Regions from separate parts of the Homo sapiens genome. Here region 2 is linked to region 1. The links are contacts of gene promoters, found by promoter capture Hi-C in human tissues and cell types (Jung and others, 2019). All regions are on one chromosome and are shown on one strand. Each heading gives the region's core, a stretch centred on a gene start or on the middle of the fragment in contact. The rest is flanking DNA. Distances are from core to core; before and after follow the strand shown.

Evidence for each region. The method cuts DNA at HindIII sites, captures the fragments that hold promoters and counts their contacts. A contact is called where the count stands out against the background at its distance.
Region 2: a fragment that was not itself captured here is called in contact with the fragment with the promoter of EBF2 in region 1 in 1 of the 25 tissues and cell types used here (dorsolateral prefrontal cortex).

Annotation. Positions count from the first base shown.
Region 1 is chr8:26,040,123-26,047,899 of GRCh38, reverse strand. It overlaps EBF2 (EBF transcription factor 2), which reads left to right and starts at 2,487. Exons shown (of 16, transcript NM_022659.4): 1 at 2,487-3,171; 2 at 5,649-5,805; 3 at 6,898-6,961; 4 at 7,229-7,284. The coding sequence starts at 3,041. RefSeq lists a silencer at 4,273-4,567. The HindIII fragment of the contact is 15,996 bases long and covers 1-7,777 here.
Region 2 is chr8:25,491,147-25,498,921 of GRCh38, reverse strand. The region is part of intron 13 of CDCA2 (cell division cycle associated 2); the gene reads right to left. Among named protein-coding and RNA genes, the nearest start is that of CDCA2, 36 kb to the right of the region's middle. RefSeq lists an enhancer at 7,006-7,506. The HindIII fragment of the contact is 4,299 bases long and covers 4,175-7,775 here.

The sequences.
Region 1 (7,777 bases), core at 1,238-3,737:
CATCCCTGGAGCTCCCAGCAGCACTGCCGCGGGGGGCGCCCTTAGCGCAGCCGGCAAGTAGTGGGGAAGCCCCACTCTGTCAAAGTTCGGGACCACGGCTCCCCCAAATTGCCTCCCAGCGGGGCACCGAGGCCCCTGAGCGCGTCTCGGGGGGTTGGCTGGGAGGAGGGGCGCCCGCCGAGCGCGGCCCCGTCTGTTTTGGGGCGGGCAGCAGGGAGCTGGGAGAAAGGAACAATTCATTCGCTTCCTGAGGGGGCATAATTTGGGTGGCAGCTGTTACCGCCGAGAAAAGCTGGTGCCCTCGACCCTGACTTTGCCCTTTAACCCCAGCCAACCTGAGCCTGAGGGGTAAACTGTTGGGGCTTGGCCCAGGCCCACTGCTGACCAGAGGCCTCTCCGGGTGCCCTGCGCACCTTTCCGGGGCAACGTGGAGGTACAGCTGATCAAAGCCCCCTTGAAAAAAAAATCACCGGGCTCATAGGCATGTCTTGAAGGGCTCACGGCTGTTCCACACTCTCTGCCAAGGAACTCAAGGCTTTGGCCCCGCTGGGCGCAGACCCCAGACGAAGGGGGTGGGGGGGAGTTGCTTGAGGTTCGGAGAGATTTATAAAGAGAGACCGTAGAAGACTCCAGGTGATCAGTTTTTGCTGGGACCGAAATTCTCCGTAAAACCTGCATGTAACAGAGAATTGCCGAGTTGAAACAGGGCAGTGAATCTCATCCCTACAAATTTCCCTCCCTACCCCCTTCTTCCTTTGGACACTCCTGTCTTACTTGGCTTTTACTAGCCACCCGATCCATTTCCCAATCGCCCTGTATGGCTCTCCCGCCCCTTCCAGTCCAACAGGGAGGACCAAGCCAGAGCTCTGGGGTCGGGGTACCACAGTCAACACAACCCAGAGGCGGGGGGTTTACCTTCTCTACCTTCCCCCAAATCAATGACCCCAGTCCCTGGATCCCGGGGCCTGTGCAGAGACGGTCCGTGCACCCGCCCCGCAAACTCCCTAACCCCCTATCCGTTTTCAAGCGAATCTCCGCAGTTCGGACCAGCACTTCCTAGTCGCAATCCCGCGCACGCAGCGTGGTGCCGCGGTTTGTCCCTTGGGGAGGTGGAGGCGCGCACCGGTCCCTTTCTCGAGAGAGCCGAGTTTTCTTGAAGTGCAAGCTTCCTGTCAGCCTAGGCAAACCAGTTGCAAGGCGCTGTGTCCTCTAGCGGCAAACTCTAGCAGTTCATTTGCGAGCGCTCACCTACACCTAAGGGATCTGGTCTCTCAAATCTGAGACCCAAGAGGGGAGAAAGTGCCCTGAACGCAGTCCAGGCGCTCGCAAATGCCCTCCCCGTAATGAGACCGGGAGACTGGGGCGCAATCGCTCGAACTACGAACAGCTGATTGTCTCCTCCACGGCAGATGGTCTTTGAGCACAGATTTGCATTCATTGTCTTCAAATCTGTTTTCGCGCTGGTGTTCTAGATTTCAGCAGCAGCAGATCTATGCGCAGATCAGAATACAAAAGGAGAAGCAAGAAAATGACACCCAGCCAGGAGGATGTTTAATAGGCACCGCGAGCAGCCCCGCGCAGTTAAAAAACCGTCTAGGGTTTCAGCTGTTCGGTGAGGCTGCTGCCACCGCCTGCCGGCCACCAGCCCGCGGCCAGCACCGCGGCGACCGCGCGCGGTGGGCGAAGTTTCCACGACTCCCCCGTCCCTCCCCGCCCACTACCGGGGGCTTCGGGAACGGAGAGGTGGGGAGGGAACCGGAGGACCCGCGGGAATACTCCCCGGCCGCTCGCGCACTCAGCCCGCCTCGATCTGTCAGCAACCTCTCCTCCACACGGGTGCGACTGCCGCTCGCGCCCGCCCGCCCGCGGGTGTTTTCCTTAGGTCCTGGACCGTTTTCCCCAGCACTGTATTTGAGCAGCACTTGCCCCTCGCTTGTCCGCCCCACCCCATCCCCCGCCTTCTTTCATATGTTCTCCACTCTCAGCAACGTGCAAGCCGCACACAACATCTGATATCACCATGGAACTCCAGGAGACCTGGGGAGCCATTCAGGGAGCTGGGTGCTCTGGGGGACGTTTGCGCAAAACATAAGCACATGTGGCCACGCTCACAAGCATGCACACAGATCCGAACCCCGGGAACGAACGTGCCTCCCGGCAGGCTACAAAAGCCTACATCTAGAGGCAGGATCCAGGGAGGCTTCCCGCAGCCAGGCCGAACCCCTGCGTCCCCAGCCCGCAGAGACCTGCTACCCTAAGTCAGTGCAGGGTGTGGGGGCCCCCCAATCCTGCGCAAGCACACGGGGTTCGTGCTAGGACTCGACGCCCGCAGCTTTCTGTCCCCTTTCACCTCCCGGAGTCCCGGCAACGCAGAGCGTGGCGCGCGCCGCCGGAGGACGTCGGCCCGGCTTGCCAGGCGCCGGCCAATCCCGCGCGTCCATGCAAATGAGGCTCCTTATCGGGCCGCAGCTCCGCCTCCCGCAGCCAGGGCCGTAGTAACCCATTCATGGGGCCCGCGCGCGGCTGCAGCCGGGCTCCGTGGCGCTCGCAGCCACCGCCTCCTCTCGGCTCCAGGTCTTCCCCTTCTTTTTACAACTGATCCTGTTGGGGATTTTTTTTTTTTCTAAATTGGAACGGTGGGGAGGAGCAGGGAGGGGGGACCTGGAGGAAGGGGAGAGATTAGGCAGCCATCAATTTCCTCCAGTTTCTCCCAGAACAGGTGATGCTTCTAAATTGTGATCACTTTCAGGAGGCAGCACTGCAGCTGGAAGGATGCGAGCGACCTAGGGTGGAGTGGCTGAGGCGGCAGATCTGAACTTGCGGAGGATAAGAACCCAAACTTTGACTACATCAGTCCGCACCTCGCCAGTGAAGCAAAGGACGGGTTATCTTTTTTTTTTTTCTAAGACTCAAACTTGGGCACTTGATCCCTTTTCTTGGATTGCTTTGGAGGAGACGATTTGCTGGCAACGTTGGGAACAGTCAGGACTGTGTTGTAACTCTTACTTTTAAAGCGACAGTAGAGGATCAGACTTTTTAAATGTTTGGAATTCAAGATACTTTAGGAAGAGGACCAACTCTGAAAGAGAAATCGCTGGGCGCGGAGATGGATTCGGTCAGGTCCTGGGTCCGGAATGTCGGAGTGGTGGACGCTAATGTCGCCGCGCAGAGGTAACGACACGGCCGCGCAATTATTATGCTGTCTCTCGCTCTTACGGTCTGTCTCTCCGTGTGCACCCCCCCCGCGCACCCCGTGCCTTTCTCTCTCCCTGTCCCCCCATCTGTCGCCCAGGCCCTGCGCGCTGGGGCTCGCCCTCGGGCAAGCAGATCGCTGCAGTCAGGCGAACGCTCACCCGGCAGCCGGCACTCGAGTTCCTGAACTGCCTGGGTCGTAGGCGTTTCTCTCCCTCTCCTTTACCACAGTCCACTCTTTGCAAGGAAAAATAAAGTAGCCCCCAACATCTCCCAGCTCAGCCCCTAGTCCTGCAAGCCGAGCCGGCCTGGCCCCGAACGGAGCGTGAACACCGGCGCTGGCAGTGGCGGCGCGGGAGGAAAGCCGGCTTCCTGGCCACTCTTGGCTTCGCCACGCCGCCTGCGAGCGCCTACCTCCCGCATCTTGCTGGGCGATTCCTGGAGCCTGGGAGGCCGGCGGCCAGAGGGTGGCGGCGGCGAGGGGAGCGGGAAAAGCCGGAGCGGCTGCCCGGGAAGACGAGGCGGCCGGGAGCTCTGGGAGGGGGGACAGGCTGGAGGGTCCCGGCTCAAAGATAAAACAGTGAGCCAGACGAACGGAGCTAGGGAACTGGAGAAAAGAAGAGATTTAAAAGAAGAGAAAATACTGAGTCACAGTAGAAAGAGTTGCGGAAGAAGAAAGAGGCGAGAAAAGGCCACCAGCAGCTAGACTGGCTCAGGGATCGCCAGCCTCTGGTTTTGCGGATCCCTGAAGTTGACTTTGTGTTTAGGCGTCTGCGTGCTGGGATAGTAAATACCATGTCCGGGGTGCCACCCTACGAAGACATTACGGTCCCACTCTCTCATCACCACTACTGAGTTGGGATTTGTGGCCTCCAGGTCCTTGTCTGCGAGAGAGGCAGCCCTTCTACCCCCAAAGAGCCGATGAACTTCTTCCACTACCCTCGCTTCCCCTGCTGCCCTCCTGGCCACCCACATTTAAGTGCCAACATCACACGGAGAAATGATCCCTTTCCCAAACTGGCCAGGTGTCCCGGGTAGAGCGAACCGGCCTCTACCCTTGGAGCGGAGAAAGCAGAAGTTTTATCGCTCCGGGACTTGGGCCGGCGGCGGTTCCCTCCCTCCTGTGGCCCGGGGAGCGCGGATTTCCCTCCGGCAGACCGCACAGCGCGGCGGCCGCGGCTTTCCGCAGCGCTTCGGGACTGGCCCGCCTGCGAGCTAAGGGAAATAAGGCAGCACCGCAGAGCCAACTGTGCCGCGCATTTCCTTAGCTGGGCTCCTTAAAGACGCCTCCCTCGCTTTCCTTCCTTCCCGGGATCAAAAAGTTTGTTGAAGCTGGAAGGAGCAGACTTAGTGGGGGAGAGCTTAGCCAAAATGTTACCCCTTTCAAAAGAGTGAATGAAGGTGCTTGCGCACCGGGGTTCAACCTGGGAGACCCCAGCGCCGCAGGGCAGCTCCCGCAATCTGTGCGTTCACCTCAGCCCCAAGTCTTCGGTGAAATGGGATCTGATGGCCAGGTGGGCTGTGACTGCGACCGGTTGGCTGGGAAGCGTGTGCACACACTCAGCACGCTCGAGGGCGCCTTCCGGGTCCCCCAACTTGGGTTTCACAGTCACTGGGTTCGGCTGGCGCCGCCAGAAAACGCAGCATGAGTGGGGATCGCGTTGGCCCCAGGAAAGGAGGTTCTCGCCTTTTAACAGTTTGGCTTTTCCCCACCTAGCACCTCTGGGAGGGAGGGCCCCCTATGTCGGTCATCTCATTTGTGGTGGCCAGCGATCCCCGGGGCTGGTCGCGAGGATTCCGCCCTGTCTCTGTCCCAGGCACAACTTTTCGGAAGAGCGAGGCAAGCAGCCCAAGGACCCAGACCTGGACTCTGTGTTACTCTCCCGCCTGCCCCTTGGGGTTCTTACCCACTACCTTTCCCAGTCAGCATTTGGGCGTTGTGAGCAGTGGGTCCAGGACTGATAACTCGAATTAATACTAAATAAAAGGGTCGCTTCTTCCAAAGCAAAGGAGGCACTTATTCCCCTAACCCTGGGCCCCAGCTCTGCATCCTGATACACCCAGCAGTACCACCTGAGGGAGTGGATGGAGACAGCCCCACGGTATAGGACGCGGGCCACCTCCTTAGGGGACCACTCTGGGCCTCTGTCTGCAGCCGGGGTCTTTCGGTTTCGACTAAAGACGGGATGGTGAGTGGCCCAGCGGTGGGATGCCGGACCACTTGGTGGTGTCAGAGACCCCAGGTATCAACCCTGCCACCCAACCCCCGTGGCCACGGTGACTCCTTTAAGGAGTCTCCTCTTCCTTATCCGAATTGGAAAAAAGGCCCGAAGGGTTCAGAACTCTGGACCTGGGAAGTGGACCCCTTACCCCTCTGCAGTGTTGTGGGCGGTTAGTAACATCGCCTTTTTGTGCTTCCCCGTGTCTTGTGTTCCCCCGTTTTTCTCCCTGTGCAGCGGGGTCGCCCTGTCCCGGGCCCACTTTGAGAAACAGCCTCCTTCCAACTTGAGGAAATCCAACTTCTTTCACTTCGTCCTGGCGCTCTATGACAGGCAGGGCCAGCCGGTGGAGATCGAGCGGACGGCCTTCGTGGACTTTGTGGAGAATGACAAAGTAAGCGGAAAGTACCCCCCAAACCCCGCGGCCTAATAACTCCCTCTTGCGAAGCACTAAAGATTCCATCTGTCACTCTCGCGACACTTTTCCACTCTCACCATCAGGGATGATAAATCGAGGCTACTCACCCCCAGCCTCTAAATCAGTCGATTTCCCGAACCTCCTCCCACCCCGACTCCCCCAACCTGGAGCTGGAGGAGCGCTCCCGGCTCTGCGCACCGAGCCTGGAGGCCTTAGTAGCGCCTGGTTATGGACTGACGGCGGAGCAAACGCCCCTTGGACTAGTTAAAAAGTACACCCAAGGCCGCCGCTCCCCTTCTCTGGGTTAATTTTAATTATTTTGCACCTGCGAGAGCCAGGTGGCCTGAGTTGCGGCACTAAGTGGAAACCGGCAGCCCAGCCTTGGCCTGCCTTCTGGCCGTGTCTTCTCTCCTGTTCTGTTCTCCAAGGCAGCGCCTCCTCCAAACTCAAGCCTGGAATTGGGGGCTGGGTTCGGTCTCAAATGAAGGACAGTCCGCCGAAACCTATGTGTGACCAAAGGAAAATCCCTTGCCCTTTCCGGGTCTCCGTGTCCCCAGCTGTACAATGTGAGCTTTAGAGTAGGCACTTCCCAAAGTCCCTCCTGAACCTGGAACTCAGTCCCTGAGCTCGTGGCCCTGCGTGCGCAGTCCTCGCGGGATAGGCCCGAATGCTGCCTTTCCAAATGACAAGTCCCTTCACTTTTCTGCCAAGGGAAGCCTTGGGGCTTCCTAAGGACAGACAGAGCCCGATGGGTTGGGTGGTGCCTGTTTAAAGGCAGCTTTGGCAAGTGGTCCTGTTGTCGGAAGCTCAAGGGTCACACTTCTGAGGACATTTTTAAGGGAGACAGAGGGCTGGAAAGGGTCAAGTGGCTACGAGTCTTGGCAAGTTTCCGGGGGCGGCCAAGGACAGGCAGATGCTCATGCCCTTTGACCTAGGGCTGAACAGGGGGTTACTCAAAGCTGCCTTTTGATGGGGAGAAGGGATGTGAGGTGGGGATTCACTGTCTCCTCTTTCCCTCATTTTGGGGGGCTGAAAGGCAAGGGAATCGAACGCTGCCTGTCTTTTCAGGAACAAGGCAACGAGAAGACCAACAACGGCACTCACTACAAGTTACAGCTCCTCTACAGCAACGGTGAGCTCTTCTACAGCAACGGTGAGCCGGCGCCTAGCAGCCGGCTTCCGGGCCGCACGCGCTGACCTTGCCATGATCACTCTCAGGGATCGCATGGAGCCCAGGGCGGCGGGAGGCTTGCCTGGGACAGGGGATTGGGAGGTCACCGTCTCCAGGGCGGCTCAGCATGGAGAGGCTGCTTGGGCCTCAGACCCATGGCAGAGAAGGGTTTGGGGTGCCCGGAAGGGGCTCTACGGCCCTTGACTCGTGCCCCTCCGGTCCCCGCAGGTGTCCGCACGGAACAGGACCTCTATGTCAGGCTCATCGACTCGGTCACCAAGCAGGTGAGCCGGAGGCCACTTGGCTTCTCTTCGCCTGTCTCTGACCCCGACCCCCAAACCCCCCAGTTTGTTTCTGACCTGCCCCTCCTCCACGATTTCCTGGGTCAGACTCCACAGCCCCCTCCACGTCCCCCTCCCAGCACCTTGTCTGCTAGGGAAGATTTTTTTTTTTTTTTCTTCCCTGTCTCACCAAGTGACCTGTTTTGTCTGGCTCAGGGAAACCCTGGGGGCAGTAAGAGGCGAACAAAAAGGATGGAGAGGAAACAATTATTGGGAGATTCAGTTCCCGCAAACATTCCATTTTGCTAAGAATGATGTTCTCACTGGGGCAAACTTCTCTATGATTTCAGTCGAGTCCAAACTCGGCAACCGCGCAGAATGTGCTGCGGGCGGGAATTCCTAATGCGGTGGCAGGTAGTGGGAGGGAAAGCGATGTTGTGCTTGTTCTGAAGTCCCTTCTTTCCTTGCCCCCCACCCCTCTCCACATCTTCCTTTC
Region 2 (7,775 bases), core at 5,075-7,574, 550 kb after region 1:
ATTACAAATATGGTTCAACAATAAAAAGAACTACTGATACACATAACAACCTGGACAAATCTCCAGAGAATTATGCTGAGTGAAAAAGCCAGTCCCCGAGTTACACAGTACATGACTCCATTTGGGTAACCTTTTCGAAATGACAAAACTGTAGGAATGAAGAAAGATTAGTGGTTGCCAGGGGATGAGGCGGGGTTATGGGTAGGAAGTGGATGTAGCTACAAAGGGCCATGGGAAAGCTGTCTGGATCTCGGCTGTATCAATATCTTGGCTGCGACCCTGAACTATGGTTTCGCAAGATGTCACAATTGGGGGAAACTAGGTAAAGGGTACTTGGGATCTTTCTGCATTACTTCTTAGAAGAGTGTGTGTATCCAAAATGATCACAAAACTTAAAATGTACACCAGGGATAGAGGCTCATATCTGTAATCCCAGCACTTTGGGAGGCCTGGGGGGCGGGGGGGGGGTGCAGATTACCTGAGGACAGGGGTTTGAGACCAGCCAGGCCAACATAGTGAAACCCCGTCTCTACTAAAAATACAAAAATTAGCTGAGCATGGTGGTGCACACCTGTAGTCCCAGCTACTGGGGAGGCTGAGGCAGGAGAATCACTTGAACCGGGGAGGAGGAGGTTGCAGTGAGCCGAGATCGTGCCACTGAACTCCAGCCTGGGCGACAGAGCGAGACTCCATTCCAACAAAACAAAACAAAACAAAATGTAATTCAACAAAACACAAAAACCATGATGGCAATTTTCCCTAGTATCTCCTCAAAGTTCAAATTTCTCCCTTGGCCCATAATTTCTTTTTCTAAAACAACTGTTCTAATCAGGACCCCAATAAGATCTCCACACATACCATTTGATTCATGTCTTTTAGTCTCTTTTATTCTATGGCTCCTTTTTTACTTCCCTTGACATTTATTTGGTGAGTAAATTGAGGCATTTTTCCTATAGAATTAGCCAAGTCCTAGATTTGGCTCACTACAGTAGGTGAGTCTATGTTCCTCCATGTCCTATAAATTGGTAATTAGATCTAGAAGCTTGATTAGATTCAGTTTTGATGGGCAAATTTGAATACAATTGTATAACCAACAAATTAAAAATTGCATATAGCATGGTGGATGAGAGGTTTTGACATATGTACACATTGGGAAATGATTAAACTAACATATCCACCACTTCACATAATTATTTTATGGCAAGAACACTTACAATGTCATCTCTTAGCAATTTTCCCATATACATTATTATTTCCTAGTCACCATGCTGTACAACAGATCTCCAGAACTTACTCATCCTAACTGAAACTTTGTACCCTTGAACCAACATCTCCTCATCCCCCACCACTCAAGCCACTAGCCCCCCTGACAACCACCATTCTATTCTCAGCTTCTGTGAGTTTTTTTTTTTTTTATTTTTTATTTTTTAAAGATTCCACATGTAAGTAAGATCTTCTTGTCTCTCTGTGCCTGGACTATTTTACTTAACGTAATGCCCTTAAGGTCCTTCTATGCTGTCAAAATGACAGGATTTCTTTAAGGCTGAATAGCATTTTGTTGTGTGTGTACACACATATTTTTTCTTTATCCATTCACCTGTTGATGGATACTCAGCTTGAGTCTGTAACTTGGTTATCGCTCTTTGATATACTGATTTCCTTTGGATACATACCCAGAAGTGGGATTTGCTGGATCATATGGTAGTTCTATTTTTAATTTTTTGAGGAACCCCCGTAATGTTTCCCACAATGGCTTGTGAAAATGGATTATTTGGAGTCACTGTGTCATAAACAACTAGAGTCCAGAGACCAGGGGAAAAAAAGCACTTGGGACTGTAAGACTAAATTTAACTACCACCATCACTCACCAGAGTTTACCAGCTCCCCAAAATTTTGCTTAGGGCCAGTGAGTTTTTTTTCTAAATAATATGTAACATTTCTTTTTCTACTAAAAACCCCAACTTTCTACGTTCTTAGGACATATCAAAGACCACCTCGGTCTGTGTGTTTGCCCCAAACTGCAATTACGTTTTCCCAAATAAAACATTTTGTTTAGAGATTCAGTTCTATATTTTTAGTTGACTTTGCCAATCAAAACAGGCTGTAGCAATTTACATTCCTATTGATAGTGTACAAAGGATTCCCTTTTCTCCATATCCTCTCCAACACTTGTAATCTTTCATCTGCTTGATAATAGCCAGTGATATCTCATTGTGGTTTTAATTTGCATTTCCCTGATGATTAGTGATGTTAGCCATTTGCATGTCTTTTGAGAACTGTCTATTCTGGACCTTTGACCATTTTTAAATTGGTGTGTTCTTGCTAATGAGCTGTTTGAGTTTCTTATACATTTTGGCTATTAACCCCTTATCAGATGTATGGTTTGTAGTTACAGTATCTTCTCCCATTCTATACGGTGTTTCTTTCCTCTGTTGATTGTTACTATGTCACATCAGCCTTTTATCAAACGTTTTAAGCAGCTTTGTTGAGCATTTCTTTTATTACCTGAAATTCTTCTATAAACAACTTTTCCCTCATCAACTATTTGTTTACCTGAAATAGAGCTCAAATTTTATTTTCCTGTTATCAGAAAAATGAGTGGGTATCCTAGCAAGCTTCTAAAGTGTCCATTAATTAAAAAAAAGTAATAAACTTATGTGTTATTTCATGATTGTACTTCAATGCTTTGCAATGCTGATGATCATATCTGGTCAGTGTAAGTCCCTTGAAGATGGATTTGTGTCTGTTAACATGACACCAGTAGTTTTTTTTAGCATCCTTCCTTGTACTCTGGTACAGACCCAACCAGGCTCACTTATTAAATTTGTTGTTGTAAATCTGAAAGCAGCCATTTCACCAAGGGACCCTAACCCCTTTTAACTGGTATGTCTAATGATAATCTATGCACCAGGGATGCTCATGAATTTTAAGCTTTATCAATGGATAGAGCTGGACAATTCTTTTAAATGGAAAATAAAATGAGTTTCTACTCTTATTTCCAATTCAAATTTAGTCTTCCAAAGTTTTAAATTTGTTGGATTTAAAAATATATCTTTTGTCTCTGAGTGCACATCTTGATTCTTAATGATGGGAAAAATTGCTTATTTGCTTTATTCTAAATTCAGTGCTTCTATTGAGTGTTTCATACTGTTTATAATTTCTTTGCAGTTATTTTTGTCCTTAAGATTTATCCCCCTTATAGGGCCAGGCGCAGTGGCTCACGCCTGTAATCCCAGCACTTTGGGAGGCCGAGGTGGGCGGATCACGAGGTCAGCAGATCGAGACCATCCTGGCTAACATGGTGAAACCCAGTCTCTACTAAAAAATAAAAAATAAAAAATTAGCCGGGCGTGGTGGCAGGTGCCTGTATTCCTAGCTACTCGGGAGGCCGAGGCAGGAGAATGGCATGAACCCGGGAGGCGGAGCTTGCAGTGAGCCGAGCTCACGCCACTGCACTCTAGCCTGGGTGACAGAGCAAGACTCCATCTCAAAAAAAAAAAGATTTATCCCACTTATATTCAAATTTCTAGGTTTGAAAAAATTCTTAATGAAGTTAAGCCACCAACTTGACATAGTAAGAATTTGTCAAATTTTGCTTTCGCTTATTAGAGATTGTTCTCTTTCTACTAGTTTTAGTTTTGTTTCATAGTCAGGTAAAACATTTAAATGGTCCCACAATCAAAACTGAAAAACAGTACACACTTAACGAAGTCTAGCTTGCATTCACATTCTCTCCTGTCTCCTCCCTTCTCCCTATAGCCAGTTTTTTATTTCTCTTTGGTTTATTCTTCAACTGAAAAATCAAAACTATATGTGTACTCTACTTTCTTAGACAAAGGGTAATGTATTAGTTTGTAAGGCTACTGTAATAAAATGTCACAAACTAGGTAGTTCAAACAACAGAAACTAATTTTCTCCCAGTTCTGGAGGCTAGCAGTGCAAGATCAGGGTGTTGGCAGGGCTGGTGTCTCTTGGGGCCTCTCTCCTTGGCCTTCAGATGGCCACCTTCTTGCTGTGTCCTCACATGGTTATTTCTCAATGCACACTCGTCCCTGGTGTCCTTATGTGGGTCCGAATTTCCTCCTCTTATAAGAACACCAGTCAGAGTGGATTAGGACCCACCCTATGGATCTCATTTTAAATTAATAACTATTTTAAAGACCAAATCTCCAAATACAGTCACATTCTGAGATCCTGGGAGTTAGGACTTCAATATATAAATTTGGGAAGGGACACAATTCAGTCCATAACCAGTAGTTGACCACATATATTGTTTTATAACATGCTTTTTTCATTTTAACAGTAAACACAGTCATCCCTCAGTATCTGTAGGGAAATTGGTTCCAGGACCTCCTGTGGATACCAAAAATCTGCAGATACTCAAGTCCCCGACATAAAATGGCACAGTATTTGCATAGAGCATATGTAAACTTCCTTTTACAGCATTATACTGTAAAAATACAGCATAATAACTATGCTTTAAAGCATCTCTAGATGACTTAACACCAAGTACAATATAAATGCTACATAGTTAATATGCTGTATTTTAAAATTTTTATTTTTTTAATTGTTGTATTGTTATTGGGTTTTTCTGAATTTTTTTTTTTAAGTAATATATTAAGAAAATACAGATGGGGTTGTGCTATGTTGACCAGGCTGGTCTCGCACTACTGGCCTCAAGCAATCCTCCAATATCAGCCTCCCAAAGTGCTGAGATTACAGGTGTGAGCCACCTCACCCAGCCCTGAGTGTTTTTGATTCAACCAACCACAGATGCTGGACAACAGTATATAGAGGGCCATCTGTGTCCCCTTGGCATCACTGTATAGAAGTGTATGGAAGTTCTCTTCACAACTTTCTACAGCTGCCTAATACTCGCTTTGTGGAAACACCATAGTTTTTTCAACAAGTCTCATATTGATGAGCATATGGTTTGCTTTTAGTCTTTTGCTTTACAAAGAATGCTGCAATAAATAAACATATATTTTTGTATTTTGATCAGTGGATCTTTGAGATGGATTCCTAGAAATAGGCCTGTTGGGTCAAAGGACAAATGAGTATTTAATTTGGCCAGATACTGCCAAATACTCCTCCACAGAGGTCTGCTTTAGCAGAAAATGTATGAGTGTGCCTGTTTGCCCCATAGCCTTACCACGTGAGTATGCTGTCAACTTTCAGATTTTTGGTAATCTAAAAGGTGAGAAACGGCATCTCAATGCACGTTACAGCTGCAATTCTCTTATGATGAGGAAGTCTGAACATTTTCTTCCTGTGCTGAAGGTCATTTTCATTTCAGTTTTGTAAATGTTTTGTTATCTTTTGAAGACTGTTCCTTTCTAAGTAATTTAGAAGCTCTTCAAATATTAGTGACATTAATCCTTGGTGTCTGATATGAGTTGCAAATACTTTTCCCAAGCTTGTTCTTTGTCTTTTAAATTTTCTTATGGGGATTTTTTTCCTTACGCATGCTCCATGCTGTATGGTTCAAAAGATATCAAATTCACCAATCCTTTGCCCTCACTGTTTCTGGTTTTTGAGTCACACTTTGGGAACTTTCTCCATTTCTGGTTTATAAAGGAATTTACTCTTGAGGATTCTAATGCTACTTCTGGTTGAGAAGTGGCATTTAATCTAATTTTAGTTATCTGTCAACATCTTGCTATGAAAGATGAAAAAACTGCTCATTTAAAACCAAACCTGCCTCTTTTCTATGTTAATTGTGGCTCTTCAGTTGGTAAACATTGAACTTTTATATTTCTATTTCTTTTCATTAAATTTTAAAATATATATCTTGAATGTCTCATGATAATGATGATAATGACCACAAAGCTTACTATGGCCAGGCACTGTTCTAAGAGTTGAGCATGCATGAATTCATTAAGATTCAGAAGCTTCTAACATCCATTTCCACCACTGTTTTACAAACAAACAAACACACAAACAAAACAGAGTCCAGAATTTTACCCAGCATTGCACTGGAGGCAGGAATGAACCCAGGATTTAAACCCAGGGGTCTGGTCCAGAGTCTGCACTCTTACCAGCACACCATTAGCCCCCTTGTTTCTACCTTAACTCACTTTTCACCTTCTGCTATTAACTACATTTTCCTATCATTAGATTGTTAATACTCACATTGTCCTGCACAACAACCAAGTTGTTAAAAGCTTCGTCCTTAGTTGAAAACAAATAGCATCTGTATTATTATGACTGCAAACATTTTTCACGGCTCTGCCAAGTACAGCTTTCATACTCTTTTCTTCTCCTCCGGGCCCCTTGAGGGAGATGATTCCTAGCACTATAAAATCTACTTTTCCTTATACTGCATTATTGCTTGAAATCACAGTAATGTTTCCTTCATATTTACTCTAAAACTTTTATATAGACTTTTATTTGAAATGGTATATAATTACCGTTTTTTTCTTATGTGACATACCTTTCATACCATTCATTCTTTCAATCACAGGTCTTTTCCGTTTTTTAGCTCCAGCTCCTTCTCCCTGCTCAAATTTGGACTGGTTGCTCTTCTAGGCTGGCTGAACAGCTACAACCAGCGATTTCCCTTTGATTGCGCTCTTGTATTGTTAGATCCGTTGTGTCCTGAATTCTTAAGCTTAGTTCCTCATTTTGCTAGAGTTCCTCCTCCAGTAGCATCCAAAGAAAAATAACTTTCTGGCTGGGCATGTTGGCTCAAGCCTGTAATCCCAGCACTTTGGGAAGCTGGGGTGAGAGAAGTGATTGAGCCCAGGAAGAGTCTGAGACCAGCCTGGGCAACAAGGTGAGACCCCCCAACCCCCCGCTGCTTCAAGAAAGTAAAAAAAAATTAGCCAGCCAGGCGTGGTGGCTCACGCCTGTAATCCCAGCACTTTGGGAGGCCGAGGAAGGCAGATCATGAGGTCAGGAGTTTGAGACCAGCCTGGCTAACATAGTGAAACCCCGTCTTTACTAAAAATACAAAAATTAGCCGAGCATGGTGGTGCGTTCCTGTAGTCCCAGCTAACTGGGAGGCTGAGGCAGGAGAATTGCTTGAACCCAGGAGGTGGAGGTTGTGGTGAGCCAAGATCATGCATCACTGCACTCCAGCCTGGGCAACAGAGCAAGAGTTCATCTCAAAAGAAAAACAAAAAACAAACAAAAAACACTAGCCAAGCGTGGTGGCGTGCACCTGTAGTCCCAGCTACTCAAGAGGCTGAGGTGGGAGGATCACTTGAGCCAGGGAGGTCAAGCATGCAGTAAGCAGTGACCACAGCACTACACTCCAGCCTGGGTGAGAGTGAGACCTTCTCTCAAAATAAAAAGAAAAGAAAAAAAGAAACACTCAAATGTCTTTTATTTTTTCCTTCACACTTAATTGAGACTGGCTGGGTGTAGAATACTCGGTTGAAATTTTCTTCTAAGCTTTAAATGAACTCTTGTATGATTTTGTAGCTTTCCGGCTATTGCTAGTCTTGATGCCACTCTGGTTCTTATTTCTCTGTAGGAAAAGCCCACTTTCCTCATTATCCTTATTGTTCAGTTTCACAGTTACAGGCCTACCCCCTGGCCCTTCTTCATTGTACCAGTTATTCAGTGGGCGCTTTTAACTTGAAGACTCCTTTCTTCAGTTCTAGGAAATCCTCTTATTTGAATAATTTCTTCCATTCTATTTTTGGGAAATCCTCTTCTTTTATTTGGATGACTTCTCCCATTCTATTTTCTCCTTCTTTTTCCTAAGAGTCCTATGGTGTCTCCTAGATTCTCGTTTCCAGTCTTTCTTTTGCTCTATCTTCTGGGAGACT